Regions from separate parts of the Homo sapiens genome. Here regions 1, 2, 3, 4 and 6 are each linked to region 5. Evidence: promoter capture Hi-C in human tissues and cell types (Jung and others, 2019). All regions are on one chromosome and are shown on one strand. The core of a region is centred on a gene start or on the middle of the fragment in contact, and the rest is flanking DNA. Distances in the headings are between cores, read along the strand shown. Region 1 has its middle 19 kb from the start of PTP4A2. Region 2 overlaps SYNC (syncoilin, intermediate filament protein). Region 3 overlaps S100PBP (S100P binding protein). Region 4 overlaps YARS1 (tyrosyl-tRNA synthetase 1). Region 5 holds the start of BSDC1 (BSD domain containing 1). Region 6 overlaps RBBP4 (RB binding protein 4, chromatin remodeling factor).

What was found. The method cuts DNA at HindIII sites, captures the fragments that hold promoters and counts their contacts. A contact is called where the count stands out against the background at its distance.
Region 1: a fragment that was not itself captured here is called in contact with the fragment with the promoter of BSDC1 in region 5 in 1 of the 25 tissues and cell types used here (hippocampus).
Region 2: a fragment that was not itself captured here is called in contact with the fragment with the promoter of BSDC1 in region 5 in 4 of the 25 tissues and cell types used here (heart right ventricle, hippocampus, mesendoderm cells and 1 more).
Region 3: a contact is called between a fragment that was not itself captured here and the fragment with the promoter of BSDC1 in region 5, in 1 of the 25 tissues and cell types used here (pancreas).
Region 4: a contact is called between a fragment that was not itself captured here and the fragment with the promoter of BSDC1 in region 5, in 1 of the 25 tissues and cell types used here (H1 embryonic stem cells).
Region 6: a fragment that was not itself captured here is called in contact with the fragment with the promoter of BSDC1 in region 5 in 1 of the 25 tissues and cell types used here (aorta).

What each region holds. Positions count from the first base shown.
Region 1 is chr1:31,955,001-31,959,278 of GRCh38, forward strand. No RefSeq gene overlaps it. Among named protein-coding and RNA genes, the nearest start is that of PTP4A2, 19 kb to the left of the region's middle. RefSeq lists enhancers at 1-41, 42-818, 819-1,596, 826-1,433, 1,021-1,580. The HindIII fragment of the contact is 3,956 bases long and covers 712-4,278 here.
Region 2 is chr1:32,688,336-32,692,092 of GRCh38, forward strand. All of the region lies in intron 2 of SYNC (syncoilin, intermediate filament protein), which reads right to left. Among named protein-coding and RNA genes, the nearest start is that of SYNC, 13 kb to the right of the region's middle. RefSeq lists an enhancer at 507-1,007. The HindIII fragment of the contact is 7,163 bases long and covers 1-3,757 here.
Region 3 is chr1:32,856,616-32,860,640 of GRCh38, forward strand. S100PBP (S100P binding protein) reads left to right here. Exons shown (of 7, transcript NM_022753.4): 7 at 1-2,260. Among named protein-coding and RNA genes, the nearest start is that of FNDC5, 12 kb to the right of the region's middle. The HindIII fragment of the contact is 3,770 bases long and covers 206-3,975 here.
Region 4 is chr1:32,791,601-32,795,529 of GRCh38, forward strand. All of the region lies in intron 5 of YARS1 (tyrosyl-tRNA synthetase 1), which reads right to left. Among named protein-coding and RNA genes, the nearest start is that of YARS1, 24 kb to the right of the region's middle. The HindIII fragment of the contact is 7,246 bases long and covers 1-3,929 here.
Region 5 is chr1:32,391,901-32,396,022 of GRCh38, forward strand. It overlaps BSDC1 (BSD domain containing 1), which reads right to left and starts at 2,541. Exons shown (of 11, transcript NM_018045.8): 1 at 2,504-2,541; 2 at 2,180-2,240. The coding sequence starts at 2,514. RefSeq lists enhancers at 1,582-2,279, 2,267-2,556, 2,280-2,975, 2,847-2,926, 3,674-4,122. The HindIII fragment of the contact is 8,966 bases long and covers 1,994-4,122 here.
Region 6 is chr1:32,664,826-32,668,710 of GRCh38, forward strand. It overlaps RBBP4 (RB binding protein 4, chromatin remodeling factor), which reads left to right. Exons shown (of 12, transcript NM_005610.3): 4 at 3,400-3,573. Among named protein-coding and RNA genes, the nearest start is that of RBBP4, 16 kb to the left of the region's middle. The HindIII fragment of the contact is 8,987 bases long and covers 1-3,885 here.

The DNA.
Region 1 (4,278 bases), core at 1,440-3,939, 440 kb before region 5:
AGTGATACTGTGCCTGCCTGGGCCTCACATGCCCTGAGCTCAGGGACACGGGAAAGAGATACCAGGTGTCAAATCAGAGGCAGGGGAGGCAGGCAGGGAGGAAGGAGCCAGGACAGGGGACAAACCACTAGCTGCTGCCAGGGCCAGCTTCCAGACACAGCTCAGGGAGGCTGTGAATAGGCCCTTTATCTAAGCTGAAGTGGGGGAAAGGAATCACAGAAGGGGGTCTCAGGTGATAAGGAGCCTCAGAACAAGCTCAGGGGATCTTGTCCCTTCCTTCTCAGCAGAAATCCTAGCAGGGGAGAAGCTTCTTTTTAAGGATTTTGTTTTCCAGCCATTTGCCCAGGATCTTCATTTGGGAGGCCCCTCCTCAATCCCACAGGCCTTACTGGGTCACCTAGAGAGGTCCTAAGAGGTGCGGTGTTGCACAGTGGTTAAGGACATGGGCTTTTGGCAGTCAAGTCTTAGCTCTTCCAGTGACTGGCTGGATACCCCAGGCAAGTCATTTCACCTAACTCTCAACTCCCTACGTCAAACAAGGATAATAACAAGTAGTCAACCCCAGAGATAAAGCCGGGAGGCCCATAGAACATTGCCTGGCAATGGTAAAAGCACTCAATAACTGTTAGATATTGTTATTTTTATTAAGAATAAAGGAGCCGGGCATGGTGGCTCATGCCTGTAATCCCAGCACTTTGGGAGGCCGAGGTGGGCAGATCGCCTGAGGTCAAGAGTTCGAGACCAGCCTGACCAACATGGAGAAACCCTGTCTCTACTAAAAATACAAAATTAGCCAGGTATGGTGGCACATGCCTGTAATCCCAGCTATTTAGGAGGCTGAGGCAGGAGAATCGCTTGAACCCAGGAGGCAGCGATTGCCGTGAGCCGAGATTGCGCCATTGTACTCCAGCCTGGGCAACAAGAGCGAAACTCCATCTCATAAATAAATAAATAAATAAATAAATAAATAAAGGCTTGGAGAGCCATTTTTTTCTCTCTCTCTCTGAAGCTGGGGCCCAATTGTCCTTCTTCCTTCAATATCTAATGACTGTTTCCCAGCTATCAGAAAGGAATCCAACTTCCCCTCCCCCAGAGCTGTGAAACTGAGTAGCAAAGCTTGCTCAAGCTCCTGAGTCATTCAGCAAAACCAGCCCAAGATAATCAGTGGATCAAGGAAACTAGATGCAGAGTGGGGAAAACCCAGCCGCAAAGCTGGGGCCTTCTCGCAGGGCAGTTCCCTCTGCTGGCCCCTCTGGTGAGCTTTCACTTCAGGTTCACAAACAAGACAGCATCTTCCCAGGCCCTCCTGAACCCAGAATAAGGCCTTAGCTACTCCTGGGTCTCTCAACAGCAGCCAGGCCTTTCTCTGGAATCTTGTTTGACACAAACTTTTTGCCTTTGGACAAACTCTCTCCTTCCCTCCGTATCCCAGGCCTCAGGAGAGTCGAAACCCTGACTCCCATTCTCACTGTCCACTCATTTCTCAGTCCCTGTCATTTGACTTCTGCCCAGCCACTGAACTGTCTGTCATCACACTCAGTGATGATCTTTTCATCACCAAATCCAAAGACTTTTTCCAGGCCTTTCCTACTTGCCTCTTCTAAACAGTCAGCGCTGTCGACCACTTTCTTTCTTTCTTTTTTTTTTTTTCTGAGACGGAGTTTCACTCTTGTTGTCCAGGCTGGAGTGTACTGGCGTGATCTCGGCTCACTGCAACATCCGCCTCCCAGGTTCAAGTGATTCTCCTGCCTCAGCCTCCTGAGTAGCTGGGATTACAGGCGCATGTGCCACCACACCCGGCTAATTTTTGTATTTTTAGTAGAGACAGGGTTTCACCATGCTGGACAGGCTGGTCTCGAACTCCTGACCTCAGGTGATCCACCCACCTCAGCCTCCCAAAGTGCTGGGATTATAGGCGTGAGCCACCGTGCCCAGCCTGTTTTGTTTTTTTGAGAGGGAGTCTCACTCTGTCGCCCAGGCTGGAGTACAGTGGCGAGATCACAGCTTGCGGCAACCTCCACCTCCCGGGTTCAAGCAATTCTCCTGTCTCAGCCTCCTGGGTAGCTAAAATTACAGGCGCCCACCACCACGCCGGCTAATTTTTGTACTTTTAGTAGAGACGATGTTGCACCATGTTGACCAGGCTGGTCTCAAACTCCTGACCTCAAGTGATCCACCCACCTCGGCCTCCCAAAGTGTTGGGATTACAGGTGTGAGCCACCGTGCCTGGCTTCTTTTCTTTCATACTTATTTGTTTATTTTTTTTTTTTTGAGATGTTGTTTCATTCTTGTTGCCCAGGCTGGAGTGCAATGGCGCGATCTCTGCTCACTGCAACCTCCACCTCCCGGGTTCAAGTGATTCTCCTGCCTCAGCCTCCCAAGTAGCTGGGACTACAGGCATGTGCCGCCACACCCAGCTAAGTTTGTATTTTTAGTAGAGACGGGGTTTCTCCATGTTGGTCAGGCTGGTCTCAAAGTCCTGACCTCAGATGATCTGCCCACCTCGGCCTCCCAAAGTGCTGGGATTACAGGCATGAGCCACCGCGCCCGGGCTTGTATTTAATTTTTTTAAATAGAAACGGGGTCTCCCTATGTTGCCAGGCTGGTCTCAATCTCCTGGCCTCAAGTGATCCTCCTACCTCAGCCTCCCAAAGTGCTGGGATTGCAGGCATGAGCCACCATGCCTCACCCTGACCACTTTCTTTCTTAACTCTCCTTCCTGAGCTTCTGTGAGGCCACAGACCCCGGTTCTTCTCCTCCTTCTCTCTTCCTTGGTTGCTGGCAACATTCCAGCCCTTAAATGTCACTTCTCATAGTTCTGCTCTTAGCCCTCTTCCCTTTCTACCCCTCACGCTCCCTCCCACTTTTAAGCTGTGCCTGTGTCTTCAACCTCTACTTCTTTGCTGATGAATTCCCAGACTGTATCTCAACCACAGATCTTCCCCCCAAGAGCCACCCACCTGTCAAGCAGCTCCACTTGCACGCTGCCACATACAGCAAGCTCAACGAGGCCAAAACTGAACTCTATATCTTCCCCCAAACCTGCTCCTCCTAGGTTCCCAATCTTGATGAATGACACCACCTTTTACCCTGTTCCCCAAGCCAGAAGCTCAAATGTCACTCTTGCTTCTGCCCAGCCCAGCCCACCAATCACCATGTTCTTAACATCTTATAAATAAACCTCCCCTCTCCCCTCTGTCTCCACTGTTTCTCTTTTTCTTTCTTTTCTTTCTTTCTTTCTTTTTTCTTTCTTTCTTTCTTCCCTTCCCTTCCTTTCTTTCTTTCTTCCCTTCGCTTCCCTTCTCCTTCCTTCCTTCCTTCCTTCCTTCTTTCTTTCTTTCGTCTTGCTCTGTCACTCAGGCTGGAGTGCAGTGGCACAATCACAGCTCACTGCAGCCTCAGCCTCCTGGGCTCAGGTGATCCTCCCACCCCAGCCTTCCAAGTAGCTGGGACTACAGGTACTTGCCACCATTCCTGGCTAATTTTTGTGTTTTTTATAAAGATGGGTTTTCGCCATGTTGCCCAGGCTGGTCTTGAACTCCTGGGCTCAAGTGAGCCTCCTGCCTCGGTTTCCCAAAGTGCTGGGATTACAGGCGTGAGCCACCAAACCTGGCCTGTCTCCACTGTTTCTGCTTCAATTTAGGCCCTCATCATGACCTGAAGCCTGGATTGATACATTTTTTGGTGGTGGTGGTTGTTCTTTTTTTTTTTTTTTTTTTTTTGAGACAGAGTCTTGCTCTGTTGCCCAGGCTGGAGTGCACTGGTGTGATCTCGCCTCACTGCAAGCTCTGCCTCCTGGGTTCAAGCCATTCTTGTATCTCAGCCACCCGAGTAGCTGGAATTACAGATGTGCGCCACCACACCCAGCTAATTTTTGTATTTTTAGTAGAGACGAGGTTTTGCCATGCTGGCCAGGCTAGTCTAGAACTCCCGACCTCAGGTGATCTGCCCACCTCGACCTCCTTGAGTGCTGGGATTAGAGGTGTGAGCCACTGCATCCGGCCTGTTTTTTGTTTTTCTTGAGACAGGGTCTCACTCCCAACGCCCAGGCTGGAGTGCAGTGGCACGATCATGGCTCACTGCAGCCTTGACTTCCCAGGCTCAGATGATTCTCCCACCTCAGGCTCAGATTCTCCCACCTCAGCCAACCAACCGGCTGGGACTACAGGCACGTGCCCCTATGCCTGGCTAATTTTTGTATTTTTTGTAGAGATGGGGTTTCACCCCATTGCCCAAGCTGGTCTTGATCTCCTGGGCTTCAGCAATTCTCCTACCTCA
Region 2 (3,757 bases), core at 1,222-3,721, 300 kb after region 5:
TATTTTGTGTAAAGAACTTCAAGTACATACTAGCTATTGTTGATCTATGAAATGTCCCCTCTTTTGCCCAGGCTGGGGTAGTCATGCCTGTTTTCATCAGGACAGTGCCTTATCACTACAGCTATTACAGTGCTTATAACATTGAAATATGTTTAATTGATGCCAAGACTGCCACATTTTAACATCTCTGATCAGGATGCATGTTAAAATCAACAGTGCTTAGATTTTACGAAATACATTCATTTTGTCTGTTATGCTTCCTTCTGGAGTACAAACTTTTTTTAAGGCGGAGTCTTTGTCGCCCAGGCTGGAGTGCAGTGGCGCGATCTCAACCTCCACCTTGCGGGTTCAGGCAATTCTGCCTCAGCCCCCGAGTAGCTGGGATTACAGGCATGCACCACCACGCCCGGCTAATTTTTTGTATTTTTAGCGAGACAGGGTTTCACCGTGTTAGCCAGGATGGTCTCGATCTCCTGACCTCATGATCCACTCGCCTCTGCCTCCCAAAGTGCTGGGATCACAGGCATGGGCCACTGCACCCGGCCTCTGGAGTACAAACTCTTTGAGGGCAGGAGCATTACCCCCACCCCGCAACACACACACACTTTTTTTTTTCTTTTCTGAGACGGAGTCTTGCTCTGTTGCCAGGCTGGAGTGCAGTGGCGCAGTCTCGGCTCACTGCAACCTCTGCCTCCCGGGTTCAAGCAATTCTCCTGCCTCATCCTCCCGAGAAGCTGGGAACACAGGCACATGCCACCACGCCCAGCTAATTTTTGTATTTTTTAGTAGAGATGAGGGTTTCACCATGTTGGCCAGGATGGTCTCGATCTTTTGACGTGATCCGCCCGCCTCGGCCTCCCAAAGTGCTGGGATTACAGGCGTGAGGCACCTCGCCTGGCCTTTTTTTTTTTTTTTTTTTTTTTTTTTTTGAGGTGAGTCACTGTCACCCAGGCTGGATTGCAGTGGCACAATCTCAGCTCACTGCAACCTCTGCTGCCCAGGTTCAAGCTATTCTGCCTCAGCCTCCTGAGTAGCTGGGATTACAGGTGCCTACCACCATGCCTGGCTAATTTTTTTGTAGTTCTAGCAGAGACAGGGTTTCACCATCTTGGCCAGGCTGGTCTTGAACTCCTGACCTTGTGATCCACTGCGCCCGGCCACACATACTATTTCTAATTGCTATTGCCAGCACATAGCTCACTGCCTGGCCCACAGTAATTAGGCACTTAGAAACTGTTGAATTGATGAAGGTGATGATAGAGGCAACGTTAAGAGTGGAGTGCAGCCTAAGGATTAAAGGGACACCCTTAGGAAGTAAGCTGATGGGCCGGGCGTGGTGGCTCATGCCTGTAATCCCAGCACTTTGGGAAGCCGAGGCGGGCAGATCACAAGGTCAGGAGATCAAAACCATCCTGGCCAACGTGGTGAAACCCCATCTCTACTAAAAATACAAAAATTAGCTGGGCGTGGTGGCGTGAGCCTGTAGTCCCAGCTACTTGAGAGGCTGAGGCAGGAGAATCGCTTGAACCCGGGAGGCAGAGGTTGCAGTGAGCCAAGATTGTGCCACTGCACTCCAGCCTAGCAACAGAGTGAGACACCGTCACAAAAAAAAAAAAAAAAAAGTAAGTTGATGAAATAGAACTTTAGCAAACAGTTTAGGAAGCCATTTCAGAAAGAAAAATTAGGGACCTCAGACCTTGCTTCCTACTTTAATGATGGTATAGCAACAAGAGAAGCTATTATACTACCAAGAGTGTATCAGGCCAGATAAAGTGGCTCACACCTGTAATCTCAGCAACTCGGGAGGCTGAGGCAGGAAGACCAAGACTTCCTCTCAATAGAGAAAGATTCATTTGATAGAGATTAGATAGACTTCTGAATATTCTTTTTAAAACTTTGTGTCATAAGATTATCTTTGGAAAACAATCCTTGGGAAGATGCACAAATCGTCAAATCTGAAACCATCTTAACCTCTTCCTTAGAGTAGCTTTCTAATTATTCTCCATTGCTCTGCATCTCTAGCCCACTTTATATCCTGCCACCAGTACTTCTTGTAATCCCAGCACATTGGGAGGCCGAGACGGGTGGATCACGAGGTCAGGAGTTGGAGACCAACCTGGCCAAGATGGTGAAGCCCCATCTCTACTAAAAATACAAAAATTAGCGAGGCCTGGTGGCGGGCACCTGTAATCCCAGCTACTTGGGAGGCTGAGGCAGGAGAATCACTTGACCCGGGAGGCGGAGATTTCGGTGAGCCAAGATCATGCCACTGCACTCTAGCCTGAGTGACAGAGCAAGACTCCATCTCCAAAGAAAAAAAAAAAAAAAAGTAGAGAGGCAGGCAGTGGCTCAAGCCTGTAATCCCAGCACTTTGGGAGGCCGAGCCAGGCAGATCACCTGAGGTCAGGAGTTCAAGACCAGCTGGCTAACATGGTAAAACTTCATCTCTACCAAAAACACGAAAATTAGGGCCGGGCGTGGTGACTCATGCCTGTAATCCCAGCACTTTGGGAGGCCGAGGCAGGCAGACTGCCTGAGCTCAGGAGTTCAAGACCATCCTGGGCAATACGGTGAAACCCCGTCCCTACTATACAAACAATTGGCCGGGCTCAGTGGCTCACACCTATAATCCCAGTACTTTGGGAGGCCGAGGCAGGTGGATCATGAGGTCAGGAGATCAAGACCATCCTGGCTAACATAGTGAAACACTGTCTCTAATAAAAATAGAAAAAATTAGCCAGCTATGGTGGCATGCACCTGTAGTCCCAGCTACTCGGGAGGCTGAGGCAGGAAAATCGCTTGAACCCAGGAGGCAGAGGTTGCAGTGAGCCCAGATCATGCCACTGCACTCCAGCCTGGGTGACAGAGCGAGACTCCTTCTCAAAAAACAAAAAAAAACAACAAAAAAAATTTGCCAGGCGTGGCACTGTGCACCTGTAGTCCCAGCTACTCGGGAGGCTGAGGCAGGAGAACTGCTTGAACCCGGGAGGTAGAGGTTGCAATGAGCCGAGATCACGCTATTGCACTCCAGCCTAGGCAATAGAAGAGACTCCGACTAAAAAAAAATTAGCCACGTCCATGGTGTTAGGCGCCTGTAATCCCAGCTACTTGGGAGGCTGAGGCAGGAAAATTGCTTGAACCTGGGAAGTGGAGGTTGCAGCAAGGCGAGATCGTGCCACTGCACTCCAGCATGGGTGACAGAGGGAGACTCCATCTCAGAAAAAAAAAAAAAAGTAGCAAGGCAATCATGTTACTTCCCTGATTAAATCCCTTTAATGATGCAGCAGACTACTGAATAAAGTCCAAAACTCAAGCTTGTCACCTGCAGCCAAGTTACTAATTATATTTCAGATATGTTGAGTTAGATAAAATATATTTAAATTAATTTTACCTATATCTTTTCTCCCCTGCTCCCCTCAGGCTTAGCTCAGCTGAATTTTTGCCTATTTTAATGTGGCTATTAGAAAATTTGTAATTATTTATGTGACTTGCATTATATTTCTGTTGGGCAGCACTGGTCTAGATTCTCCCTATGCTTTCATACCTAGCTCAAATTCCACCTCTTTTTTCATGAAGAGTTCTCTGATTTAACCAGCGCCTAAAAATAATCTATCCCGGCCGGGCGCAGTGGCTCATGCCTGTAATCCCAGCACTTTGAGAGGCGAGGCGGGCGGATCACAAGATCAGGAGATGGAGACCATCCTGGCTAACACGGTGAAACCCCGTCTCTATTAAAAATGCAAAAAATTAGCCTGGT
Region 3 (4,025 bases), core at 841-3,340, 460 kb after region 5:
CAAATTAAAATAGTAAATCCTCTCCTCTCCCTTCTGTAGGTACTAGCTGCCTTGATTTTTTTTTGTGGGTGGGGGGGATTTTTTCATTCCTTATTGAACTTATTTTGCACAATAGTGTTTACAAATCTTATACATCTTACTTTGACAGAAGACTTATAATACCTTGTGGTCTTGAGACTGGTTGTCTCCTTTGCCTTTCTTCAAGGATTTTCCTTTTTCTTTTTACCCCCCAGTGACCACTCTGCTCTTTAGGATTCTAGTGGCAGTATTCTTGTAACCTGTTAGACGTGGATATACCTCTTCAGGATGGCCTCCTTGCTGTCTTTATTGAAGAGCTGCCCACCCAGAGTCTTGACTCTAGGGCAGGCTAGTGCTATTGTGGTGTCAGTTGATATTTAGTTTCATTTGCTGAACCCCAAATTTGAGTGTTAGTTAGGGAGCCTCCATTCTGTGGGAGAGTGTGGAAAGGCACTCTTTTTTCTCCATATTAGTTAACAAGAGGTGTCTTTAGGCCCTGGATGTTACCATCTCATTTGGTCAAGCCCCTGATACCTAGTTTCACATGGATGCTAACGTGGATGTAATATAGTTGTGACAGCCTATGCACAAAAGCATTACCTGATCTTAAGGTTTGGTATTCTAACCAAAGTTGACAGACTGTGCGTCTGTCTTAATGGATGTCTTAGGAGTTGGTTATTCTCTCTTTTTTTTTTGAGACGGAGTTTCGCTGTTGTTGCCCAGGCTGGAGTGCAATGGCGTATCTCCACTCACCACAACCTCCGCCTCCTGGGTTCAAGGGATTCTCCTGTCTTAGCCTCCTGAGTAGCTGTGATTACAGGCATGCGCCACCATGCCTGGCTAATTTCATATTTTTTAGTAGAGACAGGATTTCTCCATGTTGGTCAGGCTGGTCTTGAACTCCTGACCTCAGGTGATCTGCCCACCTCGGCCTCCTAAAGTGCTGGGATTACAGGCATGAGCCACTGCACCTGGCCGGTTATTCTCTCTTTACAGATAGCTATAGACATCATTTTAGGAAGTGTTGCAGTCTGGCATTTGTGCTATTGTTCATTCTCTGTGAAGGCTGTTCATAGTTGCTATAGCCTGTGTTTAGTTTTGTGATTTCATCAATCCCATCTTTCTGTGTGAGTAATGCATTCTAAACATCCTACCCCACTTTAGAAACGGACGTGGGGAACGCTTGGTCATTTAAGCCAACAATAAATTTAGGTGAATGTCCCTAAGTGTTTACTGTTTTTATCCAGTCAAGGATTTGCTTTTCCTTGAACATTTGTTTTAAATTCTGGGGCCAAAATGCAAAGGAGAAGTTCTATTCAAAGGCAGTAGTTGAAATCTATTATTTTAGTTAGCCTACTTGGCATTTACTACATCGGTCACTTCTCCAGGCTGCCCTAAATTAGGTTGATGGAGTGAGACATGCCAAACATCCACCTTTGGGACCATAGCATAGTTAAAATTAAATGTAGTTGGAATAGCTAGCATTGCAGCTACAGTAGGGAACTGTAGTCTAGTTCCCTACAGAAAACCCAAGGAGTGAAGGGACAGGATTTTGCCTAGGCAAAAATCTAAGACTCGTGCCCTCCTGGTACATGGGGTTTTAAGACTGAATGTGTAATAGGAGCACTGCCTTTGCCAAATCAAATGAGTGACAGGTTAACTAGAAAATGTGACAATCACATTTCCTCTTAGCTCAAATAATTCTGTTTTTCCAAAGCTTTAGCAGCTTAATTAAATCTGTTGGACTGGGGGAGGAGAGAGCTGTTCTCTAGTGGTTAACATGGTATTCTTTAAGAAGAAAAAACAAAGCCAAAGAAAACTCATTATCTGGCATGTTCGCCTTAAAGATGGTACTGGGTAGAATCTGGAGTTTTCATCTCTTTTCAAAGCTGCATATCTCTTATATTTGGTATTGGCCTCTAAGTCTAATATTGCAGTTGGAATTCTTGCTGTATTATTTTTTAAGCAAGTGTTAGGTGCATTTAACTGCTTTCTTCATCCATGACGACATTCCCACCATGGGGGTCTTGACAAAGCAGAGTAAAAATATGCTGTTTACATTGTTTACTTACAAGTAAGGAGCCTGAAATAACCTGTAGTTTCGAATGCAGGCCCTGATTTACTGGCGTTGTCAGTTTCAATTATGAAACTGAAGTTTGGTGCCTCCTCTTTATCATGTTTTTTCCCTTGTAGCAGTTGTGTTTAATGTCATTAAAAAGAAATAAAAGTTCTTTGTCAGTGACATATGTACTGTGGCGGTCTGTCGTAGGCTTCGATGGAGGGTTATTTGCCTTCTTCCTTTGCGTAGGTAGGTTAGTGGGGTGGGGAGGGGGGCGGCAGTTAGTAGAATGTGGTACTGGAAAGGCGAGGGTGCTTGCTCCCTATTCTTTTGAAGGTAAATTACAGTGTTGAGAAAGGTGTTCTAGCAGTTAAGAAATGTTGAAATTGATTGGGATTTGCAGCTACATATGGTGCATGTCAGGAGCCTGACATAGGGAGAGCCTGAAATATCATTATGCCTCAGTTTTTGCAGAGGGGGAAGATGGCTCAGCCGTGATCAGGCAGGCATTGCCTTTTATTCCTTCCCATGGCTGTGTGATTGGCCTCCCTATCTCTGCTTCTCCAGAGCTAGCATTGATTGTGGAAGAAGCCATGCTATCCAAGAGCATTCTCTCTTTGAAGGGGATGTAAGAAACCAGAATCAGTGGTACAGAATTGATGGTTGTTCATAACCCAGTTTCTCCAGAAACTGCGGCTTCTAAAAACTGGGTGAAGGTTGGATAAGCGTGGGTAGATGTGGGAGACACAGTGTTCCTTAGATCCCTTTCGTGAACCAAAGCTTCTTAGACTTACCCCCAGAAGCAAGGAAAAAAGGGAAGGCAATAATAACTTGTCACCTATATTAGCCAGTGCTTTAAAAATCTGAGTTCATGCTGAGAAAACAAGTAGCAACATGTTTAGCCATGCTATCTGGCCTGCTGTGCTATAAGTTTTGTCTATAAATTCTAGACAAAATATAATATTGAGTCCATGCAAAAGACTCAATATAAGTTTGCTAAGTACTCAGCAACTTGACATTCTTGTCTCAATCTGAGGCACTCTCCTTAACCTATGCATATCTGTTTTGTTCCTATCAGGTGTAGATAGGATCTTTTGTCCATTTTACATTACGGAAAAGTGAAGAGGAAAAGGAGAGATGGACCTTCTCCAAGAGGAAGGGGGTCATTCTCTAATTAGCCTATTTTGAGCTTTTATAGGAAGAAAAAACCCAACCACCTAAAGCTAGAAAGTGGAGTTCCCTGCTTCTCTTAGTAATGTTCTGCTTTTCTAAGAGAAAACAATTATTCCTAAGCTGATTTTAGTGTATGCTTGCTTTGTATGCCAGAGCACCTGTCAGGGAAAAAAAAAAAAAAATTCCACTTGTCACAGGAAGTATCAGCTGGTCAGTGGTGGAATTCCTAAATGAATAGGCTCCTGCCTTGTCCTTCCTCCCCACCTGTCCTCCCCCTGTGACAACTGGGACATGCCATAGACGGAAAATCTGGCCCTTCCCAGCACCCATTGAAAGGGGGTGGAATATAATATTTTGGATAACCTTTAAAGCAGTCTAAGTGATAGTCCTGAAATATATCACTAAGGAACTATTTGTTTTGAGACAGCGTCTCACTCTCTTGCCCAGGCTGGAGTGCAATGGCGCGATCTTGGCTCACTGCAACCTCTACCTCCTGGGTTCAAGTGATTTTCATGTCTCAGCCTCCTGAGTAGCTGGGATTACAGGTGTGCGCCAACACACCTAGTTAATTTTTGTATTTTTAGTAGAGACAGGGTTTCACCATGTTGGCCAGGCTGGTCTTGAACTCCTGGCCTCAAGTGATCTGCCCCACCTTGGCCTCCCAAAGTGTTGGGGTTATAGGCGTGAGCCACTGCACCTGGTTAGGAACTATTTGTGTACAGTTTTCCTTCAACTTAACTTCAAGTCACATTTGAAGGTTTGGTAATATTTTGTA
Region 4 (3,929 bases), core at 391-2,890, 400 kb after region 5:
AGATGAGCCTGGCCAACATGGTGAAACCCCATCTCTACTAAGAATACAAAAATTAGCCAAGCGTGGTGGCAGGCACCTGTAATCCCAGCTACTCGGGAGGCTGAGGCAGTAGGATCACTTGAACCCGGGAGGCGGAGGTTGCAGTGAGCCAAGATCGTGCCATTGCACTCCAGCCTGGGCGACAAGAGCGAGACTCCATCTCAAAAAACAAAAACAAAAACAAAACAAACAAAAAACAAAACAAAACCCAACAGGGCAGCAAATCTTGAGCGAAGGGAAGTAAGGTGACCACACTTGCCTTGGGCTTTCTCACTGAGGGTATTTCTTTGCAAACCAGGTGCTGATAAAAAGAGACCAAGCAGACAGCGAAAGACTAAGCAGAGGAAACAGCTATTGGAGTTCAGGGCTGGAGGAGGCTAGGGATTGGGATGGGTTCCTCAGCCTATGTCAAAATTCCCCACTGATTTCTTGGCTGACTCATAGCTGTGTATGCACATAGTGAGATACCAGGAAGTCTGGCAGAGAACAGGTTCTGGGAGGCTGGAGACCTGGGCAGAGATTTTGGAGGCTGCACAGTATTGGGGAGACAGAGATGGAAGTTTAGCTCCAATCAAAGTAGAGAAGGCTTTGTGAACACCATGATATTTCAGTTTGAGTCTCTAGAAAGGCCATGCTCTAGGAACAAGGACCACACCACAGGAGTAAAGGCTAAGCTGAAGTAGACGTTCTAACAAAGCCTAAAACCAACCCCTGACAGAACCCAGGTGATAAGTCAGTAATTTAGCAATCTACAGAAAACATAGCATCCTACAAACACAATCCGGAGGGTCTACAATGCATCTATAATCCCTTTGATACACACATACAAAAAAATACTAGAAATGGGAAGCAGAGAAAAGTGGCTGACAGTTAAAATAGCCAATAGAAGCAGATTCAGAAACAATCCAGATATTGCAATAAATAGACCATGATGCCAAAATAACTGTGATTGGTAGGTTAAAGAAAATAAGCAGGGCATGGTGGCTCATGCCTGTAATCCCAGCACTTTGGGAGGCCGAGGCAGGCGTCAGGAGATCGAGACCATCCTGGCTAACACGGTGAAACCCCGTCTCTACTAAAAATATAAAAAATTAGCTGGGCGTGGTGGTGGGTGCCTGTAGTCCCAGTTACTCGGGAGGCTGAGGCAGGAGAATGGCATGAACCCAGGAGGCGGAGCTTGCAGTGAGCTGAGATTGCGCCACTGCACTCTAGCCTGGGTGACAAAGCGAGACTCCATCTCAAAAAAAAATAAAAATAAAAATAAATAAATAAATAAATAAAAGAAAATAAGAGTACATAGGCAGAATAGGCAGGAAAAACAAACCAAAAAGGAAATAAGAAAAGGCAGACAAAATGGATGAAAGAGAATTGTAAAAGACAATTGGAATCTATAAAAAGAATCAAATGGAAGTTCTAAAATGTCACAATACAATACTGGATTTAACAGAAGACACGATTGATAAACTTGAAGAAAGTTCAATAGAACATATCCAAAGTAAAGCACAGAGGGAACAAAGAAAGGAAAACAGCAGAACAGAATATGAGACATGAGTTTTATAAAGTCCCTAGAGGAGAAAGAGAATAAGAGAGAAGCAGTATTTGAGGAAATTATGGCAGACAATTTCCCAAATTTGATGAAAACAAATCCACTGATTCAAGAAGCTCAGCAAAATCTAAGCAGGATAAATACAAAGAAAACTATAGCTGAAAACATCATAGCTGGTCAGGCACAGCAGTTCACACCTGTAATCCTAGCAATTTGGGAGGCCAAGGCAGGCAAAGCGTTTGAGCTCAGGAGTTTGAGACTAGCTTGGCCAACATGGTGAAATTCCATCTCCAAAAAAAAATACAAAAATTAGCCAGGTGTGGTGGCACATGCCCATAGTCCCAGCTACTTGGGAGGCTGAGGTGGGAGGATCATCTGAGCCCAGGAAGTCAAGGCTGCAGTGAGCCAAGATCAATCACTCCAGCCTGGGCAATGCAAGCAAGACCCTGTCTCAAAGAAAACAACAACAAAAACATCATAGTAAAATTGCTGAAAATCAGAAACAAGAAAAAATCTTAAAAGCAGAGAAAAGACATATTATCTGTAAAGGAGAAACAATAAACTTAGAGGTGACTTTTCAGTCGAAACTATGGAAGCCAGAAGGCAATGCAATGATCCTTTAAAAGTGCCAAAAGAAAAATAATTGCAAACTTCCAATTTCATACCCAGTGAAAGAAATTGAAAGATGTTTTCAGATAAAAGAAAGCTGAAAGAACTCATTACTGAAAGAACTGCACTACAAACACATACTAAGTGGGGGCTCTTTAGGTTGAAGGAAAATGAACTCACACAGAAGCAAAGAACTGCAGACAAGAATCAAGAGTATCAGAAAGGGGAAGTAGGGGTAGATATAGATGAAAAGTGACTTAAAAAACAATTACAGGCTGGGCGCAGTGGCTTACGCCTGTAATCCCAGAACTTTGGGAGGCCAAGGTGGGTGGACAGCTTGAGGTCAGGAGTTCAAGACCAGCCTGGCCAACATGGTGAAACCCCATCTCTACTAAAAATACAAAAATTAGCCGGGCGTGGTGGCGGGCACCTGTAATCCCAGCTACTCAGTAGGCTGGGGCACGAGAATCCCTTGAACCAGGGAGACGGATGTTGCAGTGAGCCGAGATCATGCCGCTGCCCTTCAGCCTGGGTGATAGAGGGAGACTCAGTCTCAGAAAAATTAAAAAAAAAATGGTAGTAAAGTCTTTAAGATTTATTTTATTTTATTTTTGAGACAAGGTCTCTCTCTGTTGCCCAGCCTGGAGTGCAATGGTGCGATCTCAGTTTACTGCAATCTCTGCCTCCCAGGCTCAAACAATTCTCCTGTGTCAGCCTCTTGAATAGCTGGGATTATAGGTGCACACCACTGCGTCTGGCTAATTTTTGTATTTTTACTAGAGACGGGGTTTCATCATGTTGGCCAGGCTGGTCTCAAGCTTCTGACCTCAGGTGATCTGCCTGTCTTGGCCTCCCAAAGTGCTGGGATTACAGGAGTGACCCATTGCGCCCAGCCAAGGGATTTAAAATTTATGTCAAAAATGAGTTTTGAGGCTGGGTGCGGTGACTCATGCCTGTAATCCCAGCACTTTGGGAGGCCGAGGCAGGTGGGTTACGAGGTCAGGAGATGGAGACCAACCTGGCCAACATGGTGAAACCCCATCTCTACTAAAAATACAAAAATTAGCTGGACATGGTTGGGAGCCTGTAATCCCAGCTACTCGGAAGGCTGAGGCAGGAGAATGGCTTGAACCCGGGAGGCGGAGGTTGCAGTGAGCCAAGATCACGCCACTGCACTCCAGCCTGGTGACAGAGCAAGACTCTGTCTCAAAAAAAAAAAAAAAAAAAAAAAAAAGATGAGTTTTGCCAGGCGCGGTGGCTCACGCTTGTAATCTCAGCACTCTGGGAGGCCAAGGTCGGAGGATCATGAGGTCAGGAGACCGAGACCACCTTGGCTAACACGGTGAAACCCCGTCTCTATTAAAAATACAAAAAATTAGCAGGGTGTGGTGGCGGGCGCCTGTAGTCCCAGCTACTTGGGAAGCTGAGGCAGGAGAATGGCGTGAACCCGGGAGGTGGAGGTTGCAGTGAGCCGAGATGGCGCTATTGCACTCCAGCCTGGGCGACAGAGCAAGACTCCATCTCAAAAAACAAAAAACAAACAAACAAAAAATGAGTTTTACTCCAACTGTTGTTGGAGGAAAAATGTAGTAAAACTGTTTCTTGCATTGTTGGGCAGTGGTAAAAATATCTAACTTAAACTGTAATAAATTGCAAGGATATGTGTTGTAATCTCTAGGGCAGGGATGGGCAAACTGTTTTAGAAAGGGCCAGTTAATAAAGATTTTAGGGGCTG
Region 5 (4,122 bases), core at 1,291-3,790:
AGCACTTACTGTATGCTAGGTACTGTTCTTAGTGTTTTACATATATTAACATTTAACCATCACCACAATCTCATCAAGTAGGTATTGTTAGTATTCCCATTTTATAGATGAGGAACTGAGGCCTAGAGAGGTTAAAAACTTGCCCAAGAGGCCAGGCGTGGTGGCTCACACCTGTAATCCTAGCACTTTGGGAGGCCGAGGCAGGCGGATCACCTGAGGTCAGGAGTTTGAGACCAGCCTGGCCAACATGGTGAAACCCTGTCTCTATTGAAAATAGAAAAATTAGCTGGGCGTGGTGGCACATGCCTGTAATCCCAGCTACTCAGGAGGCCGAGGCAGGAGAATCACTTGAACTCAGGAGGCGGAAGTTGCAGAGCTGAGACTGAGCCACTGCACTCCAGCCTGGTAACAGAGCCAGACTTGGTCTCAAAAACAAACAAACAAAAAACAAAAAACACTTGCCCAAGTACATATAAGAGTAAGAAAGTAAAAAAAGGGAAATTACGTCTTTTCTTTCCAAAAAGGCATAAACAACTCCCACCTCCACCCCCACCCCAGCTTTTAACTGGGAATTCCAAGAATGAAGACGGAAGGTTGGCCAACTATCTATTTTTCATAAGTTATGATAAGACCAACCTTGAGACAAACACAGGAGGCCCTCATGCAACATCTGCTGAATGAATGTCAGACTTTCCTGCCAGGAAATTACCCAACAGGAAATATGCTACTATCGGGTCTCTTCTATCAAATGTTAGGGTGCAAGCCTCTCAGTCCTCATCAACAACATAAACAGCTCAGGGCATTCTCAGATTTGCTGGGCTATTGCTGAGAGGCTGTCCAGGAGTACCCAGGATAAGGGAGGAATAAAAACGCTCCCAGATGTCTGGGTGTGGTGGCTCACGCCTATAATCCCAGCACTTTGGGAAGCTGAGGCAGGTGGCTCACCTGAGGTGAGGAGTTCGAGACCAGTCTGGCCAACATGGTGAAACCCTGTCTCTACTAAAAATACAAAAATTAGCCAGGAGTAGTGGCACATGCCTGTAATCCCAGCTACTCGGGAGGCTGAGGCACAAGAATCACTTCAATCTGGGAGGCAGAGGTTGCAGCGAGCTGAGACCGCACCTGTGCACTCCAGCCTAGGTGACAGAGTGAGACTCTGTCTCAAAACAAAACAAAAATACTCCCAGAGTAGAGGACTTATTTAGGTGAGGTCAGAAGCTTCCTGGAGTTGGCCCTGAAGCAGGACTCATCCCAATTGCTTGAGGTAAATAGTAATCAACTTTTCCCACAATTCAGTTGGGCTGATTTTGACAAATAAGCATGAAATGAAACAGGAATACACATTGGCAAATTACCCACTGGCACAGCCAAATATCACTCATCCCACAGAGATTGTTCAGCAAGAAGGCCTTCCACTCTCTGGTGATTAATCTCTCTCTCTCTACTGCCCGTTGCATAGCCCCTACTTAGAACTCATCAGGCACCAGTGTGTATGGCTCATGCTCATCTCTGGCTTGGGTTCTTGCTTTTCATCCTGTCTAGGCAGGGTTGCCCTTGATGAGGTTCCTTCTCCACAGGGGCCTTCCCTGGTGAGTTACTGACTAACCAGAACAGACAAGGTGCCCCTGTACTTTCCTTTCACAGAACTTACCACAACGGTAACTAAACAACTATTTGTTTGGCTACTCGGTTAATGGCTGTCTCTCCACTAGACTGTGAGCTTTGTAAGGCCCAGGATTACATCTGTTTGGCTGAAGTCTGTATCCTCAAGACCTATCAGAGTGCTGGTTGTCGCATATACTCTAATATTTGAATGACTATACGAGTAAGTTTTTTTACTGCTAGAATCTTTTCCTTCAAGACCTGTATCAAATGCTCTCTCTTTCACGAAGAAACTGAATTTCCTGAGCTGGAATAAATTGCTCCTTCCTATGGATTCCTACAAAACGTTCGTTAACTCCAGCCTTTAAAACCATCTTTATTTCACTGTGGCTAGTATCACACTGGTTTGCGTCGAGGTCTGTCTTCCCGTGGACCGGTAGAGGCTAAAAGAAAGGCCCAGGTCAGCCTCATCCTTGAGACTTAGCGCCCGCAAAAGTTGGGCGGGGCTGGTTGGACCAGGTTGCATTGAGGCGGCGCAGGGCCCTGCTGAGGGAAGAAGGGCACGGGCCCGGCTTACCTTCTCTTTGACTGCTTGGTAGCTCTGCTGCAGCCAGCTCCGCCACCATCCCACGTCCTCCCTGTGGAAGACAGACACATCTGGCAGCACCGCGGTGCGATTCCTGCCCGCCCAAGGATCCGGTTTGTTCCCCGCTCAGATGTACCCTGCGGGCCGAGGCTTCGCAGACCGCTTGCCCACCCCCTCACAATGCGACTCCACTCTGCCCTTTCAGATCAGTCCACGCCCCCGCTGATCTCACGTTCCCCACCGGGACTCTCGCCCAGCACCCCAACCCTGGGAGAATTCAGGCCCCAACGCCTAGGAGCAAAACGACAAGCTCACCCTTCCGCCATCTTGCCTGCATGACATCACCACTATTTACTGACCTTTGACTTCCGACACGGCACCGCCCCCTCAAGGACCGCCCCCGAGGCGCTCGGCCCAATCCTCGCGCCGGCACCGCCCTCAGCCCAATCCCCTCCCTGCGCCATCATTAGGTCCCGCCTCCCTGAACTCTATCCAGTCTCTGTCCCGAGTTCGCCCTCAAACTCCGCCCCTGAACTCTCAGTTCAATCGTCATTCAGTCCTGTCCTCAGGCTCCACCAAGCTTGACTCTTTGTCACTGTCCGCAAACGTCGGGTACGGTGGCCTCTATGGACGATGATCAGCCGACAAGCTGGACTGCGGAGAGCTGGGAGCAGAGGGGAGGAGGAGAGATAGCTCGAACGTCAGGATCCCAGAGCGCAGGGTTAGGACCGCCCCCCTTTGTGAAACCAGCTGCGTAGAGGCTGCTTTGTGTCTCTTTGGGCTAATTCAATAAGCCCATATTGCGGGGCTGTGGCCCAGAGTTTGGAGGAATGTGAATAATTCAGAGGCGACTTAGATGCAGCCTTTGGAGGGCTTACGGGTTAATGGGAGACACACACATTCAGTAATCTCAACTTTCGGTGGCCCAGCTCAGAACAACGCCAGGTGGAGGTGGTCTGGAGAAATCCGGAGACCGCCTGGATTGAGTTCTACTGCGATTGGAAGGGAGATTCCACAGCCCACATACTTTGGACTTTAATTAAGGTCAGCCCCTCCACGTGTGCGGTAGATCCCATCGCCTCTTGTTTGCTTAAGGACATAGATCTAGTAATCCCCCCTTCATCTCTTTTCCCTCTGATGACTGCATTTATCCTTGTCATCATCCGTACTGCTGTTTCTCCCATCTCAAAGGCAAACAAAAACCAGCCCTCTCTATATCCCTCACCGTTTCCCTACTCCCCTTTACAGCAAAAGCGTTGCCTACTCACAGTCTGCAACTCCCCTCTCCTCCCATTCTCTCTTGAACTCACTGCAGTTAGGTTTTTGCCTCTCAGACAATCCTTTGAAATAACTTTCTTTTATTTATTTAATTTTATTTAATTTTATTTATTTTATATTTATTTGTAGCTCTGCTGCAGCCAGCTCCGCCACCATCCCACGTCCTCCCTGTGGAAGACGGACACATCTATTTTATTTATTTATTTATTTTTGGTCCTCCCTGTGGAAGACGGAAACATCTATTTTATTTATTTATTTATTTTGAGTCAGAGTCTTGCTCTGTTGCCCGGGCTGGAGTGTAGTGGTGCAATCTCAGCTCGCTGCAACCTCTGCCTCCCGGGTTCAAGCGATTCTCCTGCCTCAGCCTCCCGAGTATCTGGGATTACAGTTGTGCACCACCATGCCCGACTAATTTTTGTATGTTTAGTAGAGATGGGGTTTCACTATGTTGGCCAGGCTTGTCTCGAACTCCTGACTTCAGGTGATCTGCCCTCCTCAGCCTCCCAAAGTGCTGGGATTACAGGCATGAACCACTGCACCCAGCCTGACATAACTTTCTTAAGGTCGCCAAGAGGAATGGCCACTTTTCAGTTCTTGTTTTACATCCGCATCTTATTTGACACAGTTGACCACTTTCTTCATTTGGCTTCCAGGAC
Region 6 (3,885 bases), core at 649-3,148, 270 kb after region 5:
TTCCCAATCACTGCAGTAAAGCAAATATATAAAGCAAACCACACAAATTTTTTGTATGTTTACACTATACTATAGTCTCCTAAACGTGCAATAGCATTATGTCTAAAAAACAATGTACATACCTTAATTTGAAAATACTTCATTGCTAAAAAAAATAATAATAATAATGCAGACACAGAGGCACCAACTGAACACATGTTGGGAAAATGCCACTAATAGACTTAGTGCAGGGTTGCTGTAACCTTCAATTGGGGAAAAAAACTTATGTGTGACGCACAATAAAACGAGCTATGCCTGTACTTAGACTGAAGTTTCTTGAGGTACGTACCATATATGCCTTGTTTTTTCATAGATTGTAGATGCTTGTGGGCTGGAGTTATGGAAAAAATTAGGGATTTTTTCTCCTTTAGAATCTATCTTGAATTTTTATTTTTAGGTTTTTAGCCTGTGTGAAACATTTTGCTTTTCAAAAGTTATTTTGAAGTTGAAAGTTATCTAATACGCCAGCCATACCACCCATGTATATCTTTGCTTTCTGAAAAGATGTTTGTCCTTCAAAGAATAACACTAGGCCCGGCCCAGTGGCTCTCTCCTGTAATCCCAGCACTTTGGGAGGCTGAAGCGGGTAGATTATCTGATGTCAGGAGTTCAAGACCAGTCTGGCCAACATGATGAAACCCCGTCTCTACTAAAAATGCAAAAATTAGCTGGGCGTCATGGCACATGGCTGCAGTCCCAGCTACTCAGGGGGCTGAGGCAGGAGAATCGCTTGAACCCAGGAGGCAGAGGTTGCAGTGAGCCGAGATCGTGCCATTACACTCCAGTCTGGGTGACAGAGCAAGACCCTGTCTTTAAAAAAAAAAAAAAAAAGCACTATATAGCAATGCAATTGACAGAATATTTTTATTTATTTTTAAGTTACTCTCACAACTTCTTTGCTTTGTGGATAAGGTATTTGATGCTCAGAGAAACTGAAGGCCTTCCCTGAATCACCAAACTAAGTAAGTGACAGAGCCACTTAGGGGCCTGGGTCTGACTCTTACTTTGGAACTTTTGCAACCGTACCATGCTGCCTTCTATTATTCTTTGATCATTAACTACCTTTATTTATATATTGCTTTGCCAAGATTTACATAATCACACATTATATTGTTATATATACTATAATGGTACTTGAGAGAACTCTCTAAGTGCACATAGTAGTCATGTGTGAATAAAAAATGTTTTCATCTAGTTGTTGCCTACCTGGTTTATTTCAACCAGGGACTTTTGTTGGCATGTGTAAGTGGGTGTAGCAAAATGGAACTGGCTGCTGTGGCTCTGTTTTTCCTCACTGAAATAAAAGAAACACTGTAAGGAGAAGATAAACGGCATGATGGTATTTCAGAACATTCATCCCAAGCTAGAGCTTCATACAAGCAATGCAAGAAGGGCACTTTAGTGTTTAGCACACTGTGTACTTAATATTCATTATAGTAGTAGCATTGGTTTTATTTATTCAGCATACTTATTTACACTTTGAAATTTGAAAACTTTATTTTTTTTTTTTTTGAGACGGAGTCTTGCTCTGTGACCCAGGCTGGAGTGCAGTGGCACGATCTCGGCTCACTGCAACCTCCGCCTCCCAGGTTCAAGCAATTCTGTCTCAGCCTCCCCAGTAGCTGGGGACTACAGGCGCCTGCCACGACGCCCAGCTAATTTTTGTATTTTTAGTAGAGACGGGGTTTTACCATATCGGTCAGGCTGGTCTCGAACTCCTGACCTCAGGTGATCTGCCCGCTTCAGCCTCCCAAAGTGCTGGGATTACAGGCGTGAGCCACTGCGCCTGGCTGAAAACTTTATTAAGATCTGTTTTTGAAGTATGTGGGCGAAGGATTACCCAGGTGCCGAGGCAAGAGACTGAAGGCACAAACTGTTTCAGTATAATAAAGAAAATAGTTAGAATAAGAATAGTTAAAATACAAAGTAGATATAGAGATGATCATGGACATTATCAATCATTAGTATAAACATTATTAATCATCAACTTTTAATATTACTCTTTGTTGTATTACTAATATAACCAAGGAATAACCGGCAGGTATAGGATGAGGTGCTGAAGGGACATTGTGAGAAGTGACCTAGAAGGCAAGAGGTGAGCCCTCTGTCACGCCCGCATAAGGGCCACTTGAGGGCTCCTTGGCAAGCGGTAACACCATTGCCTGGGAAGGTACCCATTACTTAGCAGACTGTGAAAGGGAGCCTCCCTTCCCTTGGAGTCAGGGAACACTCTGCTCCACCAACCAGCTTCTTGTGGGAGATTGGATATTATCCAGGCCTGCCCACAGTCATCCGGAGGCCTAAACCCCTCCTTGTGGTGCTGTGCTTCAGTGGTCATGCTCCTTGTCCACTTTCATGTTCCTCCCGTACTCCTGATTCCTCTTTGAAGTTGCTAGAGGATAGCAGTAGAAAAAATAGTGAAAGTCTTAAAGTCTTTGATCCTTCTGATAAGTGCATAGAAGAAAACGCTGACGTATGCTGCCTTACCTCTCTGCTTCAGCTGCCTGAAAGGGAAGGGCCCCTGTCCCATGATCATGTGACTTGCTTGACCTTATCAATCACTTGGACGACTCATCCTCCTTACCTCGCCCCCTTGTCTTGTATGCAATAAATATCAGCGCACCCAGCCATTTGGGGCCACTGCCGGTCTCTGCGTCTTGGTGGTAGTGGTCCCCCAGGCTCAGGTGTTTTCTCTTTATCTCTTTTGTCTTGTGTCTTTATTTCTTATGATCTCTCATCTCCGCACACGGGGAGAACACCCGCTAAGCCCCGTAGGGCTGGACCCTACATCAGTAGAATTCTAGTTTTCCTTAATTTCAGATAGTAATATAATACAGCCATCCCTCAGAATCCGTGGGGAATTGTTTCCAAGACCTCCTTTGGATACCAAAATTCACAGATGCTGAAGTCTCTGATACAGCATGGCATAATGTTTACACATAACCTATGCAGATCTTCTCATATACTTTAAAATGTCTCTAGATTACCTATAATACCTAATATAATGTAAATGTTATATAAATAGACTATATTGTTCGGGGATAATGATGAGGGGGAAATCTGTACATGTTCAATACATATGCAATGTTTTTCTGAATATTTTCAATTAATGGCTAGTTGAATTCATGGATAAAGAACCCACTGATATGGAGAGCTGACTGTATTTCTTATTAGTTATTTAACTACCTGGAGTCACGGGGGTAGGAAAGCACTTTATAGTGCTAGCAAATGTATAGATTACATCTAGTATTATGCCAGTTTGTTGCTAAGGAAAAAAAATCCTTTCCTGTGTTCTTATACTCTGGGTAACCTCTAGAGTAGCTCTTGTTTTGTCCTCATTTGCAATTAATTTATTCACAGAATTTGGAGGTTTTGGTTCAGTTAGTGGAAAAATTGAAATAGAAATCAAGATCAACCATGAAGGAGAAGTAAACAGGGCCCGTTATATGCCCCAGAACCCTTGTATCATCGCAACAAAGACTCCTTCCAGTGATGTTCTTGTTTTTGACTATACAAAACATCCTTCTAAACCAGGTATGTGCCCTTTTCTATTCAAATACAAATGAGTCACTATAGAAATACATGGTTCCACTCACTGTGAGTTTAATTGCATGTTACTCTGTGTAATTTAACATCTTGTGATTTGTATTGATATGTGTATATTTTTCTTCATTTTGCCTCCATGAAAAAATAATGCTTTTTTACATAGAACAAAATACTGGTGCTGTTTAAGCATTATCTATTTGATCATAACGGTTCCTATATCATTTATAAATGTTAAGAGCTTTAGACATCTTGACCAAAATTCCATTATGCTCAGTAGGCCCAGAGAGCCAGTGGACTGGG